3 separate regions of the Homo sapiens genome follow, and regions 1 and 2 are each linked to region 3. The links are contacts of gene promoters, found by promoter capture Hi-C in human tissues and cell types (Jung and others, 2019). All regions are on one chromosome and are shown on one strand. Each heading gives the region's core, a stretch centred on a gene start or on the middle of the fragment in contact. The rest is flanking DNA. Distances are from core to core; before and after follow the strand shown.

Region 1 (4,297 bases), core at 1,011-3,510, 390 kb after region 3:
AGAGGGCCACTGTCTTTCAGACCCCCGAATGGTAGATCCACCAACAGCTTGCACTGTGTGCCTGTCACTCAATGCCAGCCTGTGAAAACAGCTATGGGGGCTGTACCCTGCAGAGCCACAGAGGTGGAGCTGCCCAAGGCCTTGGGGTCCATCCCTTGCATTAGCATGCCCTGGATGTGACACATGGAGTAAAATGAGATAATTTTGGAGCTTTAAGATTTAATGACTGCCCCACCGGGTTTCAAACTTGCAAGGGGCCTGTGGCTCCTTCGCTTTGCCAATTTCTCCAATTTGGAATGGAAACGTTCACCCAATGCCTGTATGCTCATTGTATTTTACAAGTAACTAACTTGCTTTTTATTTTACAGGCTTATAGGTGTTTTCTAATTCATCAAAAAGAGACTTTAATATTCCTTCCAGATATATAAAAGATAAAACAGAAAAGCAATGAATTTATAGCATTTTAGATAGGAAAGAACCCTTACAAAAGGTTAAGAAATCATGATATAATTTATATATTTTTTAACAAAAAAGTCCATAAACCCTATGATAACAAAAATATTTTAACCAGCTCTATTAAACATGTAAAAAATGATCAATTTAATTACCACCAGTTATTTTTAAAAGTTAAAGTAAAATATTAAAAATATAACCCAAAACAGTGATATATAATTAAATATGAAGTAATACACCAAAACATAATTGTTCACACAATAGGTAAAAGTTGCAAGCAGAGATGTCATTAGTAGTGTAGTCTGAATTATAAAGTAAAATAGAATTAATGGAAATTTATACAAATATAAAAATAATACTTTAATAATTAAAATTGTAAGTAAGGTTGTTAAGATATGTAATTTCCCACAAAGTCTTAATTATATATTTAAAATGTATGCAACTATAACAAGAAACTTTGATTTGTTGAGAAAGCTTACTAATCTCAGTAGATCTACTAGGTACTGGAGGTGGCTGTGTGCCATTGCGAGTAGGCATCGAAGACTGGTGTGATATTGGAGAAAATGGAATCATATCAAAGATGTCAGTGGAGGGCGACTTAGGTGTCATACTGCCTGCCTGCAATGAAAATAAATGAATTAGGGTAATATTTCATATAGACACATTGTAATGCTAAATATTTCATATGCATATAAAATATATGTAAACAACAATTTCAGTTGCATCATAAGAATTTGCCATTTTGTAGACCAAAAATAGTTAAGTATTCGCAATTTCATATGGTTCCACTAATTATGATAAATGCTCATTTAGAAGAAAGCAATAGAAAATTTCTGTAAAAATGCTCTCAAAGATGATGGCAAAAACGGTGACAATATTATTCCAGATGAATATAAAAGATACAGTGAATTTTTGGGATATATAGAAATGACTGCTACTTGTAACAGAGAATTAGATATATTAGAAACTATTCATGTAAAAATATGATTTCAGTAAGATACGCTGCATAAGATTACATTTTAAACTGGAATAATTAGACATAAGTGACCTGCCTTCTTAAATATAAACATTCAAATGCAATTGATTTTTTTTGCATTCTCAAAAGTAGAGTATATTTTAGTTTGTATTTATATCAACAATGGGAACCAACTGATATTCATTGCAGTACATTTTACTCCTGAAAGATTTCATCAAGTTTTCTGTAATAAATAGCAATCTTATAAACTAAATTAATAATCGCCAGTGTACTGCCCAAATCATTGAGTTTTCTGATACAGTCTGGGCCAGGACTGAACACATATAGGGAAAGATAAATGAAAATCTCATGAAAATGTAGCCAAGAAGTAATATCAAAATTAGACATTTATCACTTTGTAAAACAGGGAACAATATGTATATATGTATAATCTCCTTTGAAAACCATCTGATTTGATCAGGGATAAAAGAGAATTTCCATTTTGGGGGAATAGTGGCGAAAAATTTGCTTTTCCTGTGAGAACTTGGACAGAGATTGCTTCCAGTAGTTCATATTAAAATTAGAATTCTCAGAATACGTTTAATTTTCTGATTCACAGGTAGTGCAGGTGATGAAAAAATCAGGCTTATTGTGTGTAGAGAATGATGGGTTTGCTATTCAGCTAAAATAATTGCTAGTACATTATTTTTCATGCAGGAAAATTGCTGTCATCCCCCTTTCTTTAACAATTTGTTTATTGTATCCCCTCACCCCTTTACTGTTACTCAGCAATACCATTCCCCTAATTATCCCATTCCTGTATCCCCTCTCACTTCTATATCTCTACTCTTTTTCACGATACAAAAATTCTAAAATCTTGGCTGTCATTAAAAGCAAAACAAATCAATCAAAAATTTATTTACTCTGTCCCTCTTTAATCTTCCAGCCTCTATTCTGTTTTTCTTTTTCCTTCAAGGCTAAGCTCCTTGAAAGAGATACTACACTTTCTGTCCTAAGATTTACTTCATTCTATCTTTAACTCTTATCAATCTAGATTTGTTCTTTTTGCACTGAACTCTGCTGAAATTGCTCTTACCAATGATCTAATTTCCCAACTGCAACATCTGATAGATCCTTTGAAGTATCTGTATGTAAATTTCTACACTGTCACCACCCTCTACTTGAAACTTTCTGGTATCAGGTAATCAAAGAAAACAACAATGGCACACAAAGGCTCCAGATCACATCACATTGACTCAAGATACATCTAAATTTTTGATAACTTTACAAATAGCACATTTTGGCAGAATTTAAGCAAAATAAGTGGGATAATAAAAAAGAATTATCTGCTTAGCAAATTACATGAGGTCTTGGGATGCTGCTCTCACTGACTGGCTTGGGAAAGCCACATTTAGAAGGTGGTGGTATTAACAGTCCCAGTGATAGTCTGGAATCAGGCGAGTTGATAGGAGTGACAGAGATGGAAGAAATATTGAGACAGGGAGATGAATCACCATTACTACGCCAGAAAGAGGATGAGCATCTCTGAAACACATGTTGTTCATGATCAGACATATTGTGCAGCAGCTGTAAAGGAATGACAGAAAAAGAAATATCCTAAGAGGGCAGGCATGGAGGAAAGGAGAAAGTATACTTGAAATTTATTTGTAAAATGGTGTTTTGTTAAGATGATAAGATCATTTCACAGTAACTTTTCTAAAATTAAAACATAGAGTTAGAGTTGATTTTCCTATGTGATAGTCCTTAGATTCTGGATTGCTTAATTTGATCTTTTTTTTACTGAAATATTACATTTTTTGGTATTTTAAATAGAATATTGCATTCATCGGGACCTAAGAGGAAGGTAATGGAGAGAAACATGAAGAAAGCCTGAAGATTTATTTTGGAGAGGGCTTCTGTAATGAAATGGAAAAAGGAAGGATAGTAATGAGAGAACAGTTACAGAACTAGGAGTAAACTCTTGTACATAAAGTTATGGTTGTGTAGAATTTTCAAAAGGGATTACAACATACATTTTATATTTAATCCTCAAAACATTATTTGAAGTATCAGTAGTAGTGATATTATGTCCTTATTACAATAAATACATGGGAATTAAGGTCCACAGATTCTTTGTGACTTGTATGAGGTAGAAAGCAGATTCAAAATTCAAAACAGTCTGACTCTAGTCATCATGCCCTTTCTATAGTCATGAGGAGCTCCAAATTGTAAGACTTTTTGGGTGATGGGAAGAGGTGATTGACAAGGATCTCAAATAAATCAGAGAGATAATGAATAACAAGCAAGCAGTGTACTAGGTCTGAACATCAGTATGTGCATGACTTTTAGGGGCTATTTCCATTACAACATGGAAAGCTACTGTTAAGAGCTGAGCTGGAGAGAGCTGAGCTGCCAGATGTCACAGTGGCCAATTAAACAGCAGCCAAAATGGAAGTAATAATTAAGTCTTTATTCATTTACTGCTATAGTATAAGCAAGAGGCCAGAGAGAAGGTGCCTGCTCCATCAATGCTCCATTTTCCCCAAGGAATGGCACTTGAGCAAGGGTCAGATGTATCACTGCAGAAGTGAGGCTTTGTCTCATTACTTAGGGACTCCTGAACAAAAGGTTCCTGAGGGTTTTTTTCGGACAAGAGACGGTAGGAGGGAGAAGGGAAGGGCTAGCAGTAGAAAAGTACTGAATACTGAGTCATACTGGAGAAAAGTGGTCTCCAAGACCCTCGAATAAGGTGGTCTCAGGAGAGGCACCTAAGGCCCCCTAAAAGGAGGCCCCTGAGTGGAGTTGCCTGGGCTATAAATGCAGATATGCACAAGAGCATGGCTGGCCAGGGCACCTGAGTACTAGATTCAATTCCTCCAAACTGTGCAC
Region 2 (4,528 bases), core at 276-2,775, 310 kb after region 3:
ACAAAACGACATGTATAGAATGATTCCATTTATATGCAATACCCAAAATAGACAAGTGCTAGAGACAGAAAACAGAATAATGGCTGTCGAGGGCTAGGGATTAGACAGAATGTGGGATGACTGCTAAATAGGTATTGAATTTTCTTTTGGGGTGATGAAAAATGCTCTGGAACTAGATAGTGTTGCATAATGCTGTTAATGTCCTAAATGCCACGCAATTGTACATTTTAAAATGGTTAAAATAGTAAATTTTATTTTATAGGTATTACACCAAAAATTTTCTAACTACATTGTTGACAACGACTGACCATATGGTCTACTGTTTATTTAAGAATTTATGTTTATTGAATTTCATAGAGATTTTCTAATGAAAGCTTTAAAGCATGAATATCTGTTCTCTCATGAAATCATAAGATTAATGACAGTACATGAATTTGTAAATGGATATAAGCCTATAATGTCAAAGATAATTAATTGTGAACTAACATCAGCAAGTAATATTTGTCAATAATATTTAGGAAAGTAGGATGAAGAACGATTAATGATGTGGCAGAGAATGTTCATCGTTCCTAGAATTCATTCTCCTTACTTTGTTTATAAAATTTGTAGATGGGAGCAGGAAAATGGAGCCTATTCCCAAAACTTCTTACTCCTAAAGTTAAATTGTGAGTCATTCCTTCATTTTCCCAAAGTATAACAGTGATCTTTGTCCAGATGAGGTTCCAGAAGCTGGATTTATCAATTATTATTAACTATTAAAGCCAATCTCTAAAATGGAGATCAGTATATGTGGAAATATTAAGATTATGCACAATTTCTACCAAGATACCAATAGTGAGAGAATTTAACTTCTAAGCACTGCTTCTGCAAATTTTGAAACATATTTTATTTATACATCAAAAATCTTCATTATCTTAATAAGATTCTTATACTGTCACACTCTGTGCAAGTTATCGTAATAAAGAATCTGCTTTAGAAACAAAAAAAATTTACAAGAAAAAAACAAACCAACCCATCAAAAAGTGGGTGAAGGACATGAACAGACACTTCTCAAAAGAAGACATTTATGCAGCCAAAAAACACATGAAAAAATGCTCACCATCACTGGCCATCAGAGAAATGCAAATCAAAACCACAATGAGATACCATCTCACACCAGTTAGAATGGCAATCATTAAAAAGTCAGGAAACAACAGGTGCTGGAGAGGATGTGGAGAAATAGGAACACTTTTACACTGTTGGTGGGACTGTAAACTAGTTCAACCACCGTGGAAGTCAGTGTGGCGATTCCTCAGGGATTTAGAACTAGAACTACCATTTGACCCAGCCATCCCATGACTGGGTATATACCCAAAGGACTGTAAATCATGCTGCTATAAAGACATATGCACATGTATGTTTATTGCGGCACTATTCACAATAGCAAAGACTTGGAACCAACCCAAATGTCCAACAATGATAGACTGGATTAAGAAAATGTGGCACATATACACCATGGAATACTATGCAGCCATAAAAAATGATGAGTTCATGTCCTTTGTAGGGACATGGATGAAACTGGAAATCATCATTCTCAGTAAACTATCGCAAGGACAAAAAACTAAACACCACATGTTCTCACTCATAGGTGGGAATTGAACAATGAGAACACATGGACACAGGAAGGGGAACATCACACTCTGGGGCCTGTTGTGGGGTGGGGGGAGGCGGGAGGGATAGCATTAGGAGATATACCTAACGTAAATGACGAGTTAATGGGTGCAGCACACCAGCATGGCACATGTATACATATGTAACTAACCTGCACATTGTGCACATGTACACTAAAACTTAAAGTATAATAATAATAAAAAAAAACCAGAAGAAAGAATCCATGTCAACTTTAAATGAAGGCCCCTTTCCTTGCAAACATTAAAGCACTTGCAACATCAAGCAAAGTATATTAGGAAAGGAAGCCTAGGGATTCTGGAATGTAAACAATTTTGTTATTTAAAATATGCATGTGTTTGAATTCTTCAAAGAGCAGTCCTTATTCTATCTTCAATATGCATTATCATTTTCTGCAATTAAAAAAATTCAGTTACTTTTTTAGTAATACACTGGTATTTGGGTATGGGGGTGTACAGTGAGATGAGGAACAAAGAATGGGAAATAATGTATTAAGAAGTTTGATATTTGACAGGCTCAAGAAGAGGCTATTCAAGATGTAGTGCAAGACTATGTGGTAATCTTGATGTACGGAGACTGGACCCAACTGTAGTCAGACCCTTGAATAGATTAAAATTTCTTCTAACTCAACCTTCTCCCTCAGAAATTCCTTCTAACCCAGTCATCTCCCTGGGCAAATCCTATGGGACAGTAGTTTCAGGGGACACTACAATGAAGCATACAATGACTCAGACTATAAAAAATTTCTGTTCTCTTCCATCTTAATCTCACTGTCATTCTCCTTTAGCTAGTTACCTAATCTCAGTTTCTTATCATATGCTCATACCTTGCACTCCACACCATTCAAGTATTAAAACTTTTTAAGGAATTAATATTTTGGATTTCAATTTCAAAATTAATCTTAAAATACTGCATCCAACTTTAATTGGTTAGTCTCCTATGAGTGAAAAAATCTAGTGTCATGTGCCAAAATGAGCAAAATGAAATAGAAACTCTCAAAAAACTTCATAATTTTCTGTTTTAGATTATTAATTGCTGCCCTTCATTTTAACAAAAATATCTATAAAGATATTTAAATTTAGGTGAAATATACACATTTAGATTACCAGTACTTTATTTAGGTTTAAGTGTTTTTATGTAACTTTACTCTCATTTTAGAAAACAAAAATCCTCCTCTTAAGATGCATTTGTCTGCAGTTTTCATTTCTTGTAATGTCTGTTTTGTTTTGGTTTCAGGCTAATGCATATATCCTAAAGTGAGTTGGGAATTATTCCAACCTCCTCTCTTTTCTCAAATAATTTCTGTAGAATTGATATTTTTTTATCCATAATTGTTTGATATAAATAGCCCACGAAGCCATCTGGACCTAATGTGTTTTTTTAGGGAGACAATTTTTATATATAATTTTCATGTATGAGATTGATAAATGTTCAGATTATCTATTGGTAATTTGTATCTTCAAGGGATTGGTCTATTTCATCTAAATTGTCAAATTTATGTGCATGGAGTTGTTTGTGGTAGTATCTTTTCCAGTGTCTGCAGGGTCAGTAATGGTATTCCCTTTTTCATTGTTTATGAGGTTATTTGTGTTTTCTCTCCTTTTCTCCTGCTAAGTTTGTTAAGAACTGTATCAGTATCAGTGATTGTACAGTGTAATCATTTCCTGTTCGTCTTTGCTCTTTATTGTATCCTTAGTATAAACTCACTTTTAGCTGACTAAATAAAGCCCATTTCTGTTACTTACAACTTTAAGAATTCCAATGTGCCCTTATTTTAAGCAATACATAACAAGATAAACAAAAATCTGTAAACACTTTTGGAGCACAACCACTGAATGAATGAAGTGGAAGAAGATTCCTGAAGAAATAAAAGCACAATGAAACTAAATAAATTTTATAAAGTAAAAGAAAAATATTTTGGGTACAATGACTGATGCCTCCCCTTATTTTCCATTTTCCAAGCATAAAGACAAATTAAATTATTCTGGAAATGCTTTTCCTAACAAAGGGGACAGTTTTTTAGGTTGGTTTGTTAACAGAATCCTGTGATCTTCAAAGCATGCACAAATAAATTCTTAGCAATGGTATATCTATGTTTTCCTAGGAACGAGAAAAAAATTCATGGTTTCCTTAGGAACTGAAAAAGTCCATGAATCCTAGAATATATATTTTCCTATCTTCTATTATTTTCATTGTTATCACTATAATTATCTTGATTCTGAAATCCCTTCAGCTGACACCTTAATCGGTCAAGTTTTTAGGTCCTGGTCCATGTTGTTAGAGGAGAATATCTTTAGAATAAAGTCATTTTGGTTAAAGTATATCATATATTTTAAAACAAAATTAATATTGTTTGGAAGTTTTAAATTTCTCCTAAAATATTAGAAAAATTTGGCATATCACAAAATCAACAATGGCAATATTTTAATTGATAAATACCTACCCAGTTAGTTTGATAAACAGTTAAATTTCATATTGACAATTTACTTTCCATCCAAACTAAACAGAAAATGTAATTAACTTTAGATTCTACTTTTTCTAATCTTTATGTGTTGATGACAGCTGAAAACATTTTCATAAATTATGTATTATCTTCTTATTGTAATATTCTTCTGCTATAAAAATATAACTTCATATCCCTAGCATCTGCCTTTCAAAACATCTTCAAATCATTATGATTTTCATAAACTAGATTAAAACAACTCAAATGATTTCCAAATACATTAATTATAAATATACGCAAAACATTTTATTTTTGTATACCAACATGTGCATTTAAGATCAACTTCATAAACTTTTAGTAACATTAAACAGAGAAAATATAAAATGAGATTACTTTTTAATTAGAAATATAAAAACT
Region 3 (4,647 bases), core at 1,589-4,088:
CTATCTAACAATTAAGCAGTGAATAAAATACTTATGTCAAATAAGGACTACATCAGAGACATGAAAAATGTATTTAAACAATAGTCATATGTAGAATTTTTAAGTGGCCGTAACATTTAAGCTAATTTCCAAAAAGACTCTGAATATTGTTACCATTGTGTTTTCGTGTCAGTATATGTGTTTGCAATATTTATCCGTAACATACTAATTTCCTTAGGAGAGCAGTGTTAACATTTAAAATTCACGCATATGAATTTTTTAAAGCTCATTATAAACTACCAAAGCCAGCTACATAACATTAATATTGGCATTCGTTATGTAAATGGTAACCTGGCTTGTCAGCCACTAGGTGACGCATCTTTGTACTTAAAACTTGGCATGTTTATAATCTACAGGAAATATAAAACAGACTATGTTTCTCCATTGGTGGATTAAAACACATGAATTAAATACAATGTTCACAAATTTGTAAGACGACCAAAATTCTTTTTGAGGACTTGTTTGTATCCAGAAAATGCCTGTGAGTGAACTAGAAGTGAGTGTTCATTAGAGCTGTGCCGTCTCTGAAGTTATGAGGGCATATATAAGAAACCCCACCCCAGAACTTTATGACAGCTCTCAGTGTGCTGTATATTCAGATACCTCCTGTAACTTTTCCAAAGCTTATCTAATAGCAGAATTTCCTTGTAAAACCCACAGGGAACATAAGATGTACTGTCTTAAGTCACTTCAACTTTACTTTTACTCATGACAAAAAAAATAGGCTGAACAGTTCTCTTTCAACTCTTTTTGAGCTTAAGAACACACAAACACATATCAGCAAAATTTTATACTTATTGATTATTTTTTGCATCTAAAGAGAAAGAGGGAAATAAACAGAACTTAATGTGATGTCAAGGTACTGTAAGTGGCAAACACCCCCCCACTAAAGTTGGATTGGGAAGAAAAATAGCCACAGTGCTTATAAAAAGCTTGCAACCACGAGGCAACTACAAATATGTTGCAATTTTTTGAGCTAAAACCCCTAAGTTTGTAGTCTTTTCAATAAATGGTTGGTGGGGGATAGTAGTCATTTGGTATCCTAAAAAAGGACTGTGAGTTGTAGCATCTCCTGGGAAGAGCAGGATAGGGAGGAAAAGGGGAGAGGAATGAGAAAGGAAGAAGGATTGAGAGTTCAGGGGAAAGAAAGGGTGAGGAGGCAAGGAGAGAGAGAACTAAAAAAAAGAAATGGAGGCATAAGGAGGCCACATGGGGAGTAGGGAGGGAGTAACAGGCAGGGAAGACAGAGGAGGAGAGAGGAGTAGATATGGGCTTGCCTAGGAAGGGGTGGGGTGATGAGTGAAGAGAAGTCTAAAGGAGCCAAAAGGGGTGGAGAGAGATAAGGAGGAGGGCAAAGCGAAGGAGAGGAGGGGTAAGGAGGAGAGGAAATTAAGGGAACAAGGAAAATGGGTGTTTCTTTTCTTTTGTGTCCATGGGCTGAATATAACTGAAGACATTTCATTGTATATCTACCCCTCCCCTCATACACACATTTACATGTATTAGCTATGAGGACAACAAATACATTTGATATTACAAACAAAAACCAAATTTTCATGCAGTGTCCTTTGCAAAATCTATATGTTTAAATGTAACCATGTTTAGTTATGTGCAATAAAAATTGTCTAATAATTTCTCCTAGCTATCTTTACATTTAGCACTTAAATATTTATTTCTATGGAAGTTTGTATTCCAATTTGTTCAGCATTTTCATGACTATGGTAAATAAAAGAATATTTTCACATAAATAATGAGACAAATGTGTTTTTAGGGGAAATTAGAATATGAAAAACATTACATGCAATTATTAGAAAATATAGCAAAACAGCTTTCTGAAGTCAAACAGTACTAGTATCTTTACCTTGTTTGCAGCAAAGTCAAACCTCCTGTTGAAACATTTTAAAAAATATTTTCTTCATTAATGCGAATGTGGTTAAAACGTAGAATATGTGGAAAATATTAGTCCCTTAATATCAAGCTACTAGAAAAGATGAATTAATCAATCATTCTTGAAACAAAATAAAAACAGGAATAATAAAATATTTTAGCAGTTTGATCCCTTTGAAGAATGTTTATAGGTATCTTGTAGCCATTTTACAGAAATATATTCAATGATTCTGATAATGCGTAGAATCTTCCTTTAGACTGTTCTTAATCCATGATATTTGAAAGGCATTCTTATTCAGAAAACAATGCTCAATATTCTAACCTTACAAAGAATCCAGCAGACAAAGAGGAACATAAAATTATTGCAAGAGACCAATAACTTCCAGACTGCCTGGGGAAGTATTCCAAGATGTTAACAATCCAGGAGGGAAAAATTTTAAAGCCATTTTTAAAAGTTTCCAGTGCCTTTAACATGAAAACAAGTTAGTACAAGAACATCTTATCTTAACCACAGAACTCTTAAAAACACACATAACGCGATTATTTTTCAAGTAATGTAAAAAGCACAGCCATGGTCAGTTCAACGTTTCACAATCTGGAGCTTATAGAGGAAATTATCTTGAATCAGGCAACTGATTTTCCCCTTTACACCCCTCTTTGTGAGGAGAAGAAAGACAAAAATCCCATAAAGTTTCTTGAAATCAGTACCTACTCACCTTCCTGTTGTGCCAAAATAATAGTGGGATGAAGCAGAGCGAGAAGTAGCCAGCTCCCCTTTTGCACAAAGCTCATCATGTCTAAATATCAGACATGAGACTCTTTGTGCAAAAAGGAGAAAAGAAAAGCAGTTCAAAGTAGCACCATCAAGTTGTTCCCTGCCCTTCAGCACCGGGCCCGTCATAAAACTCAGCCACTGAGATTCCTTTGCTTTGGCCTTAAATAGGAAAAAGTTTGGCTTCCCTCACTTTCCAGCCCCTTTCTGAAATATGAGAGCCGCACCCATCCCCTCAGCAGTAAAAGAAATGATAAATATTTCTTTTTCCCTTATAGAAGACACAACCCACAGTAAGAAAAAGAGCACATCTGGAGTTTGTATGCATCTGCTTATGTAAAAGTTTTTTTACATATTTCACTCTTACATATATGTTTGTATAACTTAGGAACGTATAGAAATGCTCTGCCTTGTTTTAATACATACAATGTAAATGCATACATTTTTATTTCCCCTTATGAAGTTAACAACTGCATAATTTTGAAAAACTGCTTGATGCCCATTTATCTAGTATGTCTAATTTACAGAACTGATCTTCCTAGAAGATTTTTATGTTGGGATTTTGCCAGAAGTAATCCTAACTCAATTTAAATAGGAGACTGTAAGAGACTCACGGAAAGAAATGCCACCGTATGCCCCTTCGACTCATCCACCCACCCTGGGTCCTAGAAGTTAAGTTTCAGGCAAATATCAAAAGACAAAGTATTTCAGCAATGTTTGAATGGCTTCCTAAAAGTTAGATACTTATCTATAGCTGTTTCCATTTCTCACAAATTTCTTTAGCAAGCCAGAGTGCTTTCTTGTGAGATTTCCAATTTTTATGCTGCCTGGGAAAGACAGAGCAGATTTTTCTAGAGAAAAATTCAGCCTTTTCATGACATAACTTTTTAGGAAACTGGAAGAGAAAGAGTTTATCACATAGAATAGCAAAAGAGTACCAGAGAAAGTGGTCATTTTTTCTGCATTACTCTAAAGATTAGTATAAATATTTCTAATTTAGACTTTTATGTGTATACTTTCCAGATCCTCATCCACAAAACTTTCCAATGTATTTCTGGATCTATCTAAGCAGTAATTTTTGTGTCATATTTGAAAGAGGGGCAAATACCATTTATAGGTCTTTGATAAATCTCTGCAGGAAAAATATGCTTGTCCACAGTATAAGGCTATATCTGGCAATGGAGATATCTCTTTACACCCTAATCATCAGTTCATAGTTAGTTCATCTATCTCTATAATCTACGGTGGACATTTCAATTCTAATCAAGGTCACTTGAACTAATTTTCTTCACCTTCACCTAAACATGTCCGTCTCTATGCCTGTGCACATAAAATTCTCCCCATTTCACACCAATTAATGGAAGTCACTTCCTTATGCCTCAATGCAAAACTTTCCTCCTTAAGTAAATTACCTCCTTTAAACTAATTTTCATCTTTCTCTTTCTTCTAATTTGTGTTACTAAATTTTCACTCAACTCATGTCATATGTATATTCCCAGGTGTACATGAATCCTGTAAGCATGGACAGTGGCAAACTTGCTTTCTTGTTTCTTGCATCTTTTTTTTTTTTTTTTTTGCGACGGGGTCGCCCTCTCTCGCCCAGGCTAGACTGCAGTGGCGCAATCTCGGCTCACGGCAAGCTCCGCCTCCCGGGTTCACGCCATTCTCCTGCCTCAGCCTCCCGAGTAGCTGGGACTACAGGCGCCCGCCACTACGCCTGGTTAATTTTTTGTATTTTTAGTAGAGACGGGGTTTCACCGTGTTAGTCAGGATGGTCTTGATGTCCTGACCTCGTGATCCGCCCGCCTCGGCCTCCCAAGCTTTCTTATATCTTCAGTCACAAGGACACAAACCAAGACATCTCAATGTAGATGACATCATTTGATGACAGGAAAGGAAAACTAGAACGAGACCAACCTCTTGTGTATCTTTATTTTAGATTGGAGAGT

The links. Contacts are between HindIII fragments. The study calls those that stand out against the background at their distance.
Region 1: a fragment that was not itself captured here is called in contact with the fragment with the promoter of COL3A1 in region 3 in 1 of the 25 tissues and cell types used here (aorta).
Region 2: a contact is called between a fragment that was not itself captured here and the fragment with the promoter of COL3A1 in region 3, in 1 of the 25 tissues and cell types used here (mesenchymal stem cells).

The regions. Positions count from the first base shown.
Region 1 is chr2:188,581,039-188,585,335 of GRCh38, reverse strand. It overlaps GULP1 (GULP PTB domain containing engulfment adaptor 1), which reads right to left. Exons shown (of 12, transcript NM_016315.4): 10 at 933-1,071. Among named protein-coding and RNA genes, the nearest start is that of DIRC1, 210 kb to the left of the region's middle. The HindIII fragment of the contact is 5,483 bases long and covers 1-4,297 here.
Region 2 is chr2:188,657,669-188,662,196 of GRCh38, reverse strand. The region is part of intron 1 of LOC105373790 (a long non-coding RNA gene); the gene reads right to left. Among named protein-coding and RNA genes, the nearest start is that of DIRC1, 130 kb to the left of the region's middle. The HindIII fragment of the contact is 3,716 bases long and covers 1-3,383 here.
Region 3 is chr2:188,972,564-188,977,210 of GRCh38, reverse strand. COL3A1 (collagen type III alpha 1 chain) reads right to left here and starts at 2,838. Exons shown (of 51, transcript NM_000090.4): 1 at 2,643-2,838. The coding sequence starts at 2,721. The region is part of intron 1 of LOC105373791 (a long non-coding RNA gene); the gene reads left to right. The HindIII fragment of the contact is 6,513 bases long and covers 818-4,647 here.